2 separate regions of the Homo sapiens genome follow, and region 1 is linked to region 2. The links are contacts of gene promoters, found by promoter capture Hi-C in blood cells and fetal thymus (Javierre and others, 2016). All regions are on one chromosome and are shown on one strand. Each heading gives the region's core, a stretch centred on a gene start or on the middle of the fragment in contact. The rest is flanking DNA. Distances are from core to core; before and after follow the strand shown.

Region 1 (2,954 bases), core at 72-2,571, 56 kb before region 2:
AAGTCTTCTCTTCAGCAAATGAAGTTGGAAGCATCTTTGTGTCTTTCGGTGAAGTCACCTGGAGACCCATGGGTCAAGTCTCTGTCAAGTTACTGATAGGGGTGAGGGCACTGTGAGAAGACAGCACAGTCAGCACATTCAATCCACAGGCTACCAGAGGACACAGACCCATGAGTCCTGAACAGACTGGTGGCTCTGAGTTTCAGGACATCATTTTTTTTTTTTCCAAGAAAAAACTAAACATGAAGATCCTGGCAGCCGTGCACATTCTACCATAGCCTGTCTCCAACTCCAGCAGACAAGCCAACCCATTCTTTCTCCACCTCACCCTCTACATATCCTTTCTTGGGAATACTCCCAAGATGCTCTCACGGATTTGCTTGGTCTTGACACCATAGATTATGGGATTGACCATGGGTGGGAAGAGCAGATAGAAATTGGCAAGGAGGATGTGGACATGAGGGGCAGCATGGCGGGCTACACGGTGCATGACTGAAGAGATGACCACAGTTGTGTAGAAGGCTAAGATGGCACCTATATGAGAGACACATGTCCCAAATGCCTTGTAGCGGGCCTCCTGAGAGGCAAGCAGTAGAACTGCCTGAAGAATAAAGATATAAGACAGGATAACAAGGAGCAGGTCCAACACCACAATAAACATGGCCACAGCGATGCCATAGATATTGTTGAAGCTAGTGTCCCCACACGCCAGCCTCACCACAGCCATGTGTTCACAGTAGCAGTGAGCGATCACTGGGCCTCGGCAGTAGTGGAAACATCTCAGCAGGAAGGGGAGTGGAGTCATTAGTGTCACAGCCCGGGCCACAGCAGCCATGCCAATCTTGGTGATGAGGGACCCAGTCAGGACCTTGGTGTAGTGCAGTGGCTTGCAGATAGCCACATAGCGGTCAAAGGCCATGGCCAGCAGCACTGCTGACTCCATGATGGAGAAGGAGTGAAGGAAGAACATCTGGGCCAGACAGGCAAAGAAGTTTATCTCCCGATCCCTGAACCAGAATATGGCAAGCATTTTGGGCAGTGCTGAGGAGGAAAGGACCAGGTCGATGGCTGCCAACATGGCCAGAAAGAGGTACATGGGTTCATGGAGGGCTGCATCAGCCTGGATGATGAGAAGGAGAGTGCAGTTTCCAAGCAGGGCCAGTGTATATGCTAAGCAGAAAGGGATGGAGATCCAGATGTGCAGGTGTTCCAGGCCTGGAATCCCCACCAACAAGAAGGCAGTTGGATGTGTTAAGGTGATATTGGAGGCTGACATGGCTCCTGGGAATTCTCTTCCTCCTTATCTGCTTCCACAGGGCCCTTCCAGAGAATATTCAATATCAGCAGAATTACAATGCTCACATTCAAACTCTGATCATTCTTGTGAGAAGATTAGTTCTTAGACCCATTTTTAGACATGAAAAGAAATGAGAAAATAATCATATGTATCATGAAATATTATGCATGATCCTTGCCCTTAAGCTGTTTATAAAAACACTGGGTGCTCAGGACATTTAATTCCAATAAAGCTAGTATTACAAAGCAGCCTTATTGAGAAATCAAGTGGAGGAAGAGCCTTTTGTGGCCTGCATGTGGCCAAAAGCAACTTTGTAAATAATACAGATTGCTGCTTAATTCAAATCATACCCACAAACATTTACCGTCACTGTCTTCCTATTGCCTTCCAATTCAAACTACACTCCCAATTATGAAAGAGTTTCTGCCCTGAAATGTCAATCTTGGTCATATGAAAAATAAATGTAGTTAGCACTTTCTAATAATTCACTTCCCTACAAGTTCTTTAGATTTTTTTTCTAGCAGGGTTTCGTAGGTCCTTGTTTGACACTCAGAAATCCCTCCAACTAAAGCCCTACCTCCAGGTAACTTGAGAACATGAGAAGCCCTTTTGTTGTTCTCTTTTGCCTAACTGTAGTTTAACCTTCATCTCTACGTGCTTCTTCCTTCCTGGACTTCATGACATTCAGAAGAAGAGATGCCCCACACTTACCTTTTTGCAAGACTGACCTATTCCCTTCACACTATTTTTCCATCTGGGATCCTTATCATTCTATCTTTTTCCACCTTCTGTTGTCATTTCCCTTGAAAACGTTTAAACATTTCCTTGCAATATTTTTGACCTGTGCCACCTTTTTTTTCAGCTCCTGCCTAAAAACTTTCTTTTGGGGATTTTGAGATCTTTTAAAACACTTAGCACAAATCTTGAAACAGTGCTCAGTAAACGTGGACACTTATGAATTGAGAAAACAAAAGACTAAGTCACTAACAATCAGAACAGTTGGAAAACGTCAAAGATGAAACTTGAGCTTCGAGAACTCTGGTTTGCTGCCTCCCAATCCAATGTCTTAAATCACTACACTCTTCTGCTTCTACCTCATTGCTTCCTAAGAAGTATAAATCCAGCATATTCAAGTTAACAGAAATATAACTCAAACTCATTATCATGATATAGGAAAAAAAATTAGAATCTAAAGACTTGGGTTTAAGTAATGATTGAGCCATCAGCCTACCAATAGAAACTAGTATTAATCACTGAAATTTTTAAAGATTTAGGTTCCTCACCTATAGATGAAGGCATAACCATATCTTCCATGACAATTTTACTGCTTCATGATGAGGAAAGATAAAATCATGAGAAGAGTCCCTGTAAACTGTAAAGCATTGTAAAACTGTTATTTGTCATTACAATATTCCCCCTCCCACACAAATCTGCCCCCTTTTTTAAAATGTTTTTCTTGACATCAGCACAATCCCGCATTCCTTGGCCTTATATCTCCCTCCATCTAACACCCGCAACTGTTTTCCTTCACAACAATGTTTGTTGAAAAAGTTGAGTAATTCATTATCTAATTCCTCATCTCTTAATTTTTAATTCCTTCCAATCTAGCTCCCATCTCCTCTACTCCCCTTATATGATCTTATCATTGCTTGTGTAT
Region 2 (2,908 bases), core at 22-2,521:
TCAGTATATCAAAGAGATATCTGCACTCCCATGTTTATCGCAGCACTATTCACAATAGCCAAGATTTGGAAGCAACGTAAGTGTCCATCAACAGATAAATGGATAAGGAAAGTGTGGTACACATACACAATGGAGCACTATTCAGCCATAAAAAGAAGGAGAACCTTTCATTTGCTACAAGATGGATGGAATTGGGGATTATTATGTTAAGTAAAATAAACCAAACACAGGCAAACAAACAAATTGTTATGTTCTCACTTATTTGTGGGAGTTAAAAATTAAAACAATCCAACTCATGAAGATAGAGAGGATGATGGTTACCAAAGGCTGGGAAGGGTAGTGGGGAATGATTAATGGGTTCAAAAATACATGAGAGAGAATGAATAAGATCTAGTATTTTATAGCATAACAAGGTGAATACAGTCAATGATAATTTATCATTTTAAAATAACTAAAAGCATATAACTGGATTGTATATAACACAAATGATAAGTGCTTGAGGTGATGGATAGATACCCCACTTACCCTGATATGATTATTACGGATTGTATGCTCTACCTGTATCAAAATATTTCATGTACCCCACAAATATATACACCTACTATAGACACACAAGATTGAAAATTAAAAAAATTACTTTGGTAAATTTTATGTTCTATATTTTTACGATTAAAAATAAAAATAATATAACCTGAGAATGTCCCTAGCTCAGTGACAAGAACACAGTTGGTTGTCAAATGTCAATTTCCTTCTCACCACTCACTGGTGGGACACTCACCTTGGGGTCATGCGAAATAAATCACTCACCTGCAGGCGTTAAAAAATATTAGTCACATCAGTCACATGAAAATAATTAGCTTCTGGAAGTAAGCAGATGGTGGCACGCGAGGAAGAGCACCGGCCACTCTTCTCTGCATCAAAACTTCCTTAAAAGCATCTTCCAGACATGGACATAGCGTCTAGGTGTGGAGTGATGACCAGTGTCAAAGAAAGCAGCCCGGACTCCCCCGTCTTGTAGATATTTTACCAAATCAGATAATGAAGACATGGGAGGGAGCGCGCAACCAGGACCACGGGCTACTGAGTTTCCACTCCTTCCCAGTCTCAGAGAAGCCTCCTGGGCATGCAGAGCCTCTGAAGCCTCCCCCAGCTCAACTCTGACTTCTCTTCTCAGCCGCATTTCTCCACACACCCTTTCAAGGCTCTGCTCCTCCCACTGCTCCTCCCTCACTCCTCCCACGGCTCCTCCTCCTCCCTCCCCTTTCCTCTCAGACTTGCTTCTGAGCGGAAACTGAAAGTGAAATAGGGAGCTGGCTACCAGCGTTGAGTCCCCTGTAAAGGTGAGTGAACCCCACTAGATCAAGGGACCCCTGCCCTCCTAGGGGACCTCTCTCCCCTGCCCCAGGGTTGCAGAGCCCCTTCCAGTCTCCATCCTTGAGCCGGTCCCATTTGCCCCTTCTCCCACCAGGGATCCCTCAACCCAAGACCAGCTGCGCTTCCGGTGCTGGCCCCCTGCTTGGGAGGAGGCTGGGGTGTGGACCTGACTGCCGAGTTACCCAGAAGGGGAAGGGGCCCGGCTGCCCCCTACCTGGGAGGAGGCTGGGTTGTGGACGTGACTGTGGAGTTACCCAGAAGGGGAAGGGGCCCGGCTGCCCCCATGCTGGCACCTGACCTAGGATGACGGCTGGGTGTGGCTGGGATAGCCAGGACTACAGCCTAGCCAGGAGGGTAGGGAGCCCAGTGTCGGGGAGGTCTGCAATTCTGGAGACTCCCAGGTCCAAAAGTCCTCCAGAGGTGAGAGGGGCAGGCTGTTTAGGATGTTCAACCAGAAATGTATAGGCCTTCAGAATTATTCTTTGTCCTAGAATAAGTGTTGTCAGGAACTAAACTAAGTTTGGAGCAGCTGAGAAAAGAGCCCAGGGAGTGCTGGCCACGGTTCCTGTTACTCTGTGTGTATACATACATATACACCTACATACATATATGCAACTGACTTCCGCCGTTATAGGAGGGATTAATGAAGATATATTCAAAGCATGAAGTATCTCTGGCACATGGAAGGTACATGGTAAAAAGTAGCTATAATTTCTCAGCAACATGGAGGCCTGTTGGTACCCGACAGGAGATGGATGAGCACTGAGGGTTTAAGCAGGAATGGACATGATGAGAGTAGAACTGTCAACAGCTTTATGAGGTTCTTGCCAATTTTCATTCCCTCTTTTAGGGACTCAGTTTCTCCTTCTGTCTCACTGGATCAATGGACCAAACAATGGAGGAGTTCTTGTTATTCAGAACAGGAATAAACTTATTCAACAAACTGTTTGATCGGTGCAAAAGTAATTACTGTTTTTGACATTAATTGTTTTGCCATTAATTTTATGCCTTGTTTTGTTTTGTTTTGTTTTTGAGAGGGAGTCTCGCCGTGTCACCCAGGCTGGAGTGCAATGGCACAATCTTGGCTCACTGCAACCTCTGCCTCCCAGGTTCAAGCAATTCTCCTGCCTCAGCCTCCCAAGTAGCTGGGATTACAGGTGCCCACCACCACTCCCAGCTAATTTTTGTATTTTTAGTAGAGACAGGGTTTTACCATATTGGTCAGGCTGGTCTTGAACTCCTGACCTAAGGTGATCCACCCACCTCGGCCTCCCAAAGTGCTGGGATTACAGGTGTGAGCCACCGTGCCTGACCCATTATTTTTATTCTTATTTTTTATTTTCCTTTGCATCATTTTGTTTTTCTTTTTTTAGTATATTTTTAATTTTTGTGGGCACATAGTAGGTATATTTATGGGTATATGGAATATTGTGATACAGGTATACAATGTGTAATAATCACATCAGGGTAAGTGGGGCATCTATCACCTCAAGCATTGATCATCTGTAATACAAACTATGCAATTATACTCTTA

The links. Contacts are between HindIII fragments. The CHiCAGO score rates a contact against its expected background, and 5 or more counts as called.
Region 1: a contact is called between the fragment with the promoter of OR52K2 here and the fragment with the promoter of TRIM21 in region 2, in 6 of 17 cell types (monocytes, M0 macrophages, M2 macrophages and 3 more). The highest score is 9.3, in monocytes.

The regions. Positions count from the first base shown.
Region 1 is chr11:4,447,662-4,450,615 of GRCh38, reverse strand. It overlaps OR52K2 (olfactory receptor family 52 subfamily K member 2), which reads right to left and starts at 1,321. Exons shown (of 1, transcript NM_001005172.2): 1 at 255-1,321. The coding sequence starts at 1,276. The coding sequence ends at 332. The HindIII fragment of the contact is 8,565 bases long and covers 1-2,954 here.
Region 2 is chr11:4,392,065-4,394,972 of GRCh38, reverse strand. It overlaps TRIM21 (tripartite motif containing 21), which reads left to right and starts at 1,271. Exons shown (of 7, transcript NM_003141.4): 1 at 1,271-1,340. RefSeq lists enhancers at 1,091-1,150, 1,171-1,380. The HindIII fragment of the contact is 6,932 bases long and covers 1-2,908 here.